Linked DNA regions of Homo sapiens: region 2 is linked to region 1. The links are contacts of gene promoters, found by promoter capture Hi-C in human tissues and cell types (Jung and others, 2019). All regions are on one chromosome and are shown on one strand. Each heading gives the region's core, a stretch centred on a gene start or on the middle of the fragment in contact. The rest is flanking DNA. Distances are from core to core; before and after follow the strand shown. Region 1 holds the start of SLC22A31 (solute carrier family 22 member 31). Region 2 has its middle 51 kb from the start of ACSF3.

Region 1 (4,352 bases), core at 881-3,380:
GGATGGTGCAGGACCCCAGCCCTTCCTCGACTCACGAGCTGAAGCCCAAGATAAGCCCGTTTCTCCAGGTGACTCGGGTACGCAGAAGCCCCAGTGGGGAGTGGTACCGGGGCTGGGGGCTCCGTGCAGACAGCATGGTCAGCTCTGTAGCCGCAGAGATGTGAGGGGAGGGGGGTGAGGAGCTGTGCCTCTCCGAAGCCCTCCTCCAGTACCTGAATCTCCCTCCTCCCTGGTAGGCGCCTGACCTGTAGCCAGGGAGTTCTCCTCCAAGGAACTGTCCCCGGGGCCCACGCCACTGGCTTCTGCAAAGCGCCACAGGATCTTCCTGGCTCGAGCTACCTGACCTGTGGCCAGCAGCCAGCAGGGAGACTCGGGGAACAGGGCCGGGAACCTGCAGCGTTGGTGAGGATGCCCACGGCTCCCTCCACCTCCTCCTGGAAGGAGAGGCAAAGGCCAGGGCCCCCACCCCACCCCCAGGCTCAGGGGCAGGACATCACTGTAGTTCTCTGTGACCCTGTAACCCATGCGTTTACCTGGCATGGGATACGTCGGTGCAGAGGGAAGCTACATAGTCAGCCCCGATGAGGGCTGCTGGCCCAGCTCCCACCACACTTACCCCCAAAAGAGCAGCAAGAGTCCACTCATCAGGGCACCCAGCCCCTGCAGAAGACGCCAGTCCTGCACAAGCGCAGCCAGGCCGGGCAGCAGCAGGGTGCCCACCACCGAGAAAAGGCCAGCCCCCATGGAGAAGGCCAGGCGGTGGGGAGGGTCACACAACTCCAGGCCTGGGCAGACACAGACAGGTTGAAGTGGAGGCCTCGGGGAGGACTGGAACAGTTCCATTGGGAACTGCGGGGACCTATTGGTGACCTGCCCAGGAGCGGGATGCCCAAGGGACTCACTGCTCACTGTCCCTGCAGCTCGGGGCCCTCGGCAAGGGAGCCTCAGAGGCCTGCGGGCCACCCACTGCCCCTCCCCCAGTGACAGCAGCCCCCAGGGTACTCACGAGCCAGATACAGGGCGAGGAGGGCCCCTGCCAATGTGCCCCCGTGGAGTAGGCGCAGGACCAGCAGGGTAGGGAAGCTGGCAGCCAGGGCCTCACTGGCCCCCAGGCCTGTGGTCAGCACCAGGGAGGCCACAAAAACTGCCCGGCGTCCAAACCTGGTGGGCAGCGGGGGACATGCTTGGACAGGGTCAGGATAACCCAGGGTCCAACCTTCATCCTGGCAGCACCAGGTCTAGCTGAACCCTGAGAGTGGGCGGAGGGGAGGGCTGCTGGGCAGCAGGAAAAGGGAAGGGGCCTCACCGGTCACAGCCTGCTCCCAGGATGACACAGCCCAGCAGCCAGCCCAGGAGGTGGCTCACCTGCTCCAGCGGGACCTTCCAGCCGTCTCCACACACAAGGTTCCACTATGGGGAACAGCAGCCACGTGGAGGCCAGCTCAGGACCCTCCCCTGGGGACAGGTGCAGGGAGTCCCAGAATGGCTACTGGAAGGGGCCCTCCATGTCCTGCTCAATCCCTCCGTGGAGAGAAGGGGAAACTGAGGCATGAGAGGGCAAGGGGCTTGGTCCAGGTCACACAGCAGCCTCTCTGGTCTCCGGCAGCCCCTGCACAGGGGTCGGGGGGATCTGCCCACCCTAAGTTTTCTGCTTGTCCCTAGATAGGGCCTCCCCCACCTCCGCACACCATTGCTCTTCCCCCACGGCCAGCTCTTGTCCGACCCGTTTCCACCTCCTATTCCGAGGGACCCCGGGGACACCCAGGGCCTTGGTGGCGTCATAGACACAGCCCCCACCCCAGCCGGCCAAGGGTCATAGCCATGACACAGGCCTAAGAAATGAACCCCAGCACCTGCGCTGGTACCCACGCCCTCCCTGCCCTGCCCATTTCAAGAGGGACTCGGGCAGCGGCTGGAGAGCTGTGCTCAGCGGCATTTCCCGGTGAGGCCCTTGACCCTTGACCTCAGCTCTGCGCCTCCCCCCACCCCTTCCGGTTCCTGGGTCTTCTTGGCAAGCTTAATCTACTGCTGGGGGCCGTGCTATGCCCGAGATTTTACTTTCAAACCTGACGTTTTGGGAAAGCTGATGGGGCATTCCTGGATCCAGGCACCAAACAGGAGGAGGGCAGGTGGGAGGTGGGAGGGAGCAGGGTGGAGAGAGAAGCCCGGCGGGTTCCAGGGCCCCAGGCAGCCCTTGTGAAGATGTGGCAACCCCGTTCCAGTTTCCACACTGGGGCCAGTCCTCCCAGGATGGGGGATGGGGGCCTCGGGGTAAAGGCTGCCTCAGGGGTGTGCAGGTCTCAGCCCCAGCGCGGAAAGGCATGAAAGGGGCCTGGAGGTCCCTGCCGCCCGCCTCCCCATCTCTTCTCACGCAGATCGTCAAGGTTTCCCTTCAGGCAATGCAGTCTCTAGCCCAGCCTCTGCGCACCTCACTGATGGGAAGCCCACCTTCCCCAGTCTGTGCTGACCACGTCAGTCCCTCCAAGCAGAGACTCTGCCTTGGAAAGCCAGCCCAAAGCCACGGTCTGCTGAAGACGCTGGTGGTCCTGAAGCAAATTCCAGGCCCTGCTCCCCCACCGGCGCCTTCGGCTCCAATCCTCCAGCGCCCCAGGCCGCCCCGCGCCTGGCAGCTCCCAGGCCCAGATTCAGCCCCCGCCCGGCCCCTCTCCGCGGGTCCGGCCCGTGCGCGCCCGTCTGCGGCACCGTCGGGCCGGCGGCCGCCCCGGAGCAGGAAGCCCAGGAGGACGGCCGGGGGGCCCGGGTCAGAGGCGCCAGGTAGGATGGAGAAAGGACACCCAGGGCCTCGGCGGGCTGGGGGCGGGGAGGGCTGCGGGGCAGCAGGGACGGGGGCGCACCTGGGTGACCGGGCTTTGCAGGAGGCCGGCGCCGGGCAGCGCGTAGAGCCAGCCGCGTGTGCAGGGCCGGGTGCCGTTGCGTGCGGGCGCGGGGCGCGGGCCCGGGGCGGGTGCAGGGCGCGGGATCGGGGTAGCGCAGGAGCAGGCAGGGGCTCGCGGCTCGCGTGGGCCCCAGGCGCGGGATGGCGGCGTCCAGCAGCGCGGGTCCGCGCAGGGCGCGCAGCGCTGGGGGCAACAGCGTGGGGTCCGGTCGGCAGTGGGGCGCGGGCTGCGCGGTAAGCAGCTCCTCGGAGCTCAGCACCAGCCCCAGCACTATGCAGGGTACCCACGAGGCGGAGGCCAGCAGGCGCCGGGCCCGGCCAAAGCCGCCCGCAGCTCTCAGCACCCGCGCCTCCTGCTCCATCGGTCGCAGGCTGCGCTCGGGACGGGGCGGGGCCTGGACCAGGGCGGGCTCCTGGGGCGGGGCTTTGGGGCGAGGCATTAAGGGGCGGAGCCTGAGTCCAGTGGAGGCGGGGTGTGGGGGCGGGCGGTGTGAGGGCGGGGCCTAAGGCGTAAAGGGGCGGGGCCCGATCTGGGGCATAGGGCGGGGAGGTTGAGGGGCGGGAAGGTTGAGAGGCGGGGCTTGCGGCCGAACCGCGAGGGGGCGGGGCCCCGTGAGGGCGGCACGTGGGGGCCGGGGGCGTGGCAGGGGCGTGGCCGGGAGCGCTCAGGTGCCCTCGCGGCGCAGGTGCACTCAGGTTGCCCGGGGGCGCGCGGGCTCCGGCCGGCGTCCCGGGGTGGTCCCCGCGTGGGGCCGGGGGCGTCCGCGCGGGCGGGGCGAGGTCGGGGAGGGCAGCCGCCCGCCCTCCTCGGCGCTGGGAGCTTTCGGCTGGTACTGCGGGAGGAGCTCCCGGGTGACCCGCGGGTTCTGAAACCGCCGCTCGGGAGCTCGGGGCCTGCGCTGCGTCTACGGGGCGAGCGAGGGAGAACTGACGCCTTTCGCCCGGATCCTTCTCCCCTTCCGAGAACCAGGTAGGTCGCGTTTATTTTCAAGTCCGACTGTTTTCGCGGTAACATTTGTGGGAAACATCACGGTGGATCCTGTGGGTCGCTGAGTTTTCTGACTCCCGGTTTGTCTTATTTTGCTTTGTCAGTGGGCTCTGCGCTCGCGTTAACAATTCGAATGGGCACGTTTCTGCGTTTCAGAACGCTGTTCGCTTCCTCACACTTAGATTGAGGTGGAACTCACGTCACATAAACCGGGTCGCAAGGCTCAGCTCAGCGGGGCCCCCCCAACAGTGTTGCGGGACCAGCACCTTCTCGGGCTCCGGAACAGCTTCTACCCGAGCAGAGCCCGCCCGTCGGCGGCCGCTCTCCGCGCCCCTCCAGGGCCCTGCAGCCCCCGCCCTGCTCCGCGGACCAGCCTGTTCTGACCTCCGTTCAATGGAGCCCTACGTGCTGTGGCCTTTTGTGTTCCGGCGTCTTTCGCTTAGAATCGCGTCTTCAAGGTTCGTCCCC
Region 2 (4,352 bases), core at 880-3,379, 160 kb before region 1:
ACCCCAAAGCCATTCCCCAAGGGCAGCATCCGCCTAATGGCACTGTCCCTTGTGGGCAGCTGGGGAGCCTGACCACATCCCGGCTCCACATCCACACACCAGGGCCCCCACCCATCCCCTACAGCCCAGCTCCATGTCCACACACCAGGTCCCCCACCCATCCCATACAGCCCAGCTCCACGTACACACACCGGGGCCCCACTCATCCTGTAGCCTCTTGGCCTCTGCCCTCGGTTCAGCTTCTGAATCCATTCAGTTTTATCTCACAGTCTCCAAAGGAACAGGTGAGGGGGAGAGGTCACCTCTGACCCTTGTTCCTCAGGAACCCACAGCTCGGAGGGGCAGCTGCGAGTCCAGGTTCCCCCAGCTGGGTGTGGCAGAGTGGGCATGATGCGGGGGTGGGTCTGTCCTCTGCCCTAGGGGCTCTCAGGCCCACTGGGCACTGACCCCAAGTGGATCCCAGCAGTCGGACGGCGAGGACCATGGAGGGAGTGCTGGGCTCCCTGGACTCCGGTCAGTGCCCATAGGCTGCTCTCAGTCCTGGCCTCACCCCATCCTGTGCAGGAGGAGCCCAGGGAGGCCTGGGCAAGGGGGGATGCGGCGCTGGGGCTCCTTCCCTCCCCTCCTGTTTGAGCTGATGTCACGCCTGCTCCTTGGCGCAACCTTACTCCCGGCTCAGGTGGGAGGGCAACCGAGTCGGCCTGGGTTCAAGTTCTCCAGAGTGCCGGCCCTCCACTCGAGTTCCCCTGCCCCGGGGAATGCCCTTTCCCTACACCTGCAATCCCCTGAGGGACGGGAGGAGGCCGGTAGTCCATGAGCATCTGTCACTGGCTGTGCGGCTCTGGGCGCTCTGGGCCAGTTACTGAACCGCACGTCCCTCCTTTTCTCTGACACCACAGGGACACATCTCAACCATGCTGGGCTGAACCCAGGAAAGGGCCCCATGGCAGCAGTGCCTCTTGTCCTCACGTCTAGCAGAGGCGTCCATGGCAAGGGGCTGGCCTGGGAGCCTGGCTAGGTTGGGGGACTGAGGAAGCGCCTGGCTCCGACTTCCCAGCACTAGGACCAGGAGTGTCCTCGGCCCCTGCCGCTGTCTGGCCCCACCAGCCCTGATCTCACGGCAGCAGCAGCTTTCCTGGTTCTGGGCCACGTCGGTGTCTTCCTGGCAGCAGCAAACTCCTGTGCTCGGCTGGCCCCCCGTGGGTGCCTGTGAGCACTTGCAGAGCAGCTCAGCTATTGGTATTCCCACCACCCTCCCGCCCAGACCTCCGGGCACCCCTAGCCTCCCTGGGCCTCCCACCTAGACCTCAGCATGCCCTTGGCCTCCTCGGGCCTCCCGTCCTGGCCTCAGCACGCCCTTGGCCTCCCCGGGCCTCCCGTCCTGGCCTCAGCACGCCCTTGGCCTCCCCGGGCCTCCCGTCCTGGCCTCAGCATGCCCTTGGCCTCCCCGGGCCTCCCGTCCTGGGCTCAGCATGCCCTTGGCCTCCCCGGGCCTCCCGTCCTGGGCTCAGCATGCCCTTGGCCTCCCCGGACCTCCCGTCCTGGCCTCAGCATGCCCTTGGCCTCCCCGGGCCTCCCATCCTGGCCTCAGCATGCCCTTGGCCTCCCCGGGCCTCCCGTCCTGGCCTCAGCATGCCCTTGGCCTCCCCGGGCCTCCCGTCCTGGCCTGCGTAGCCGTTGCTCTGCAGCTTCCTCTGTTGAACTTGTGCGTGGCACTCACGAGCCCAGGCTTTACTGAGCACATCCTGTGTGCCAGGCGTGGCCGGTGACCAGCAGGTCGCCACGATGTGTGGACAGAAGTGCAGGGTGGGGGCTGACCCGTTGGTCACAGGGCAGTCAGCAGCTGAGCTTAGACTTCCGGAACCCAGGTCTCTGAACCCACAGCCCGTGTTTGGGTCACAGTGTGCTGCTGAGATGGGAGCGGGTGGAGGCGTGTGGCTGGGGTTTCCCAGGCGTGTGGATGGGCGCGGGGCTGGCCTGCCAGGGTGCAGCGATGGGCGCGGGGCTGGCCTGCCAGGGTGCAGCGATGGGCGCGGGGCTGGCCTGCCAGGGTGCAGCGATGGGCGCGGGGCTGGCCTGCCAGGGTGCAGCGATGGGCGCGGGGCTGGCCTGCCAGGGTGCAGCGATGGGCGCGGGGCTGGCCTGCCAGGGTGCAGCGATGGGCGTGGGGCTGGCCTGCCAGGGTGCAGTGATGGGTGTGGGGCTGGCCTGCCAGGGTGCAGACCCCATGCATCTGGTTGCTGTGAAGCTGCTGGGGGGAGCAGGAGGGGTCTGCACCAGGTCTCCAGGCTCTGCGGCCGTCATGGAGAGAGCTTGAGGTTGCTCCTATTCACTGGAGACAGCCGTTGTGGGGTCTTCAACGCTGAGGCCCGTGGGCTCCTGGGTGACCTGTGTGGGGGGCATAGATTAGCCCTGAGTGGGCCCAGGCATGAGGGCGTCTTGGAACTCATCTAACCCAGGTGGCAAACAGGGGCCGCCCGACTGCCAGGGAGAATTGACGAGCAGTGGCGTCCTGGAATTCCCGTGAGGTGGCGGGAGAAGATTCTATGATTGATCCGTCATGCCTGCCGTGGCTCAGGATGGGACCGGCCTCTCAAGCTACAGATCAAGAAACTGAGAAGGGAGTAGCCTAAAGTCACCATGAGAGTGGCCAGGTCTGGGCCGGCCTGGCCTCCACCCCGCAGAGACCATCTCAGCTCTGCTCGCTCAGCCTCGTCCCCGCCTCTGACATCCTTCCATTCCCGCTCATGGCCCTCTCTGTCTGCCACCACCCTCCCCGCCATGGGTGCTTAAAGCCCCCGGCAGCTGCCCTCCCGTCCCCCAACATGGCCCTTCCTGACATGCCAGCCCCTCCCAGCAGCAGAGCCTTCCCTGTCCTGAAGAAGACGGAGCCGAGCTCTGCCATCCAGGCGGCATCTGTGCACAACAGGAACACGGGGACCCCGTGCAAGCCTCATGGCTGCCATCAGGAGACATGACAGCGGGTGGCTCCTGTCCAGCACCTCCCGGGCTGGGGCAGGGCCGTGCAAAACACCATGCGCTCTCCCCATTTGGTCTCACAAGTGCCTGGGGGTGTCGAATGCAGGTGGATGATCATTTCTATATAGAAACACAGATGTGGAAACCATCTCCTGGGAGAACCGGTATTGCCAGGTTGGTGTGGGGCACCAGGCCCTTTCCAAGGGGATGCGCTGCAGACCTCTTAGTAACCCTTAGAATTATTCTCCACTCCACAGACTAGACAGGGGCGAGGAGCAGTTGGGCTGTTTGCTGGCACAGGCCGCAATCCACCATCCGAGCCCTGCACAAGCCTTCCCGACTTCTGAGACCTCACAAGCCCTCACTCAAATCGGGTCAGGATAAATGGCCCAGACTCCCCAAGGGTCTCTGGTGTGGCCCTAGGCCCCAGGACCTTCCAGTCACCTGCACCCTCGCTTGGAGAAGCATGCTTACCCTACAAGGCCCAGGGAAGATACCACCTCCTACAGGAAGCCTGCCTTGACTCCCCCAGTGGACGCTTACTCTCCCTGACTCAAAGGTTCTGCAGGACCTCACCCTCTGCCGGCTGCCCCTGTCACCCTGGTGTGGGGGCAGCGTGTGTGCCCCCCCTCTACCCAGCACTGTACTGATGCCCGATCTGGGGCTGGGGGAGCATTGTGGAGAAAATAGATGAACACTGTGGATCCAGGTGTCTCTGGCTCCTGAAAACTGCAGGTGAGGACCAGCCGAGGAGGGCGTCCCCAGCAGCCCCTGTCCGTACATGTTTGGCACCCAGACAGCCCCCATGTGGTCCTTGCAAAGAAAGGGGGCTGTGGCTGAGCCCAGCACATTGTGTGCAGGGACCGCCCTGGAGTGGACGCAGCGGGAGGGCTGGCCGCACCTCCCATGCACACCCTCTCCCCCAAGCCCCAGACGCGGAGCAGGAAAGAGTTAAGTCCTCTGTGAGCAACTGTGTGAAGGAAGTGGTAAACAATTTTTCTCTCCCTCGGCTAAATTAATATGCAAATTCCCAAGCCCCCCTCCATTCCCTTCCCCTGCCTTGAAATTAGCGAGGTAGAATGCTTGGGCTAATTATGCATTCAAACGAGCAGGCTGCGTTCGCCCGGCACTAAGAAGATGCGGAAAATGATTGTGAGAAGATGGAATTGACATTCGAACGCGGCCCTCCCAGTGCATCTGGAGCCACTCTCCTGCATCCAGCAGATGGAACCCGGCAGTGACCGCCGGCCACCCCCTGGCCCGGGAAAGGGCTGCAGCAACTAGCAGTCGGCTCTGCACCCTGGTCCAAGGTGAGGGAAGAGGGGGGCCCATGAGCAACCATCTAGACCCCCTTTTCCCCACTGCGGAACCCC

Evidence for each region. Contacts are between HindIII fragments. The study calls those that stand out against the background at their distance.
Region 2: a contact is called between a fragment that was not itself captured here and the fragment with the promoter of SLC22A31 in region 1, in 1 of the 25 tissues and cell types used here (dorsolateral prefrontal cortex).

Annotation. Positions count from the first base shown.
Region 1 is chr16:89,198,407-89,202,758 of GRCh38, forward strand. SLC22A31 (solute carrier family 22 member 31) reads right to left here and starts at 2,131. Exons shown (of 9, transcript NM_001384763.1): 1 at 2,072-2,131; 2 at 1,307-1,410; 3 at 1,007-1,161; 4 at 617-785; 5 at 246-391; 6 at 36-144. The coding sequence starts at 2,095. RefSeq lists enhancers at 411-1,034, 2,283-2,905 and a silencer at 3,198-3,287. The HindIII fragment of the contact is 13,129 bases long and covers 1-3,911 here.
Region 2 is chr16:89,040,558-89,044,909 of GRCh38, forward strand. No RefSeq gene overlaps it. Among named protein-coding and RNA genes, the nearest start is that of ACSF3, 51 kb to the right of the region's middle. The HindIII fragment of the contact is 7,491 bases long and covers 1-4,352 here.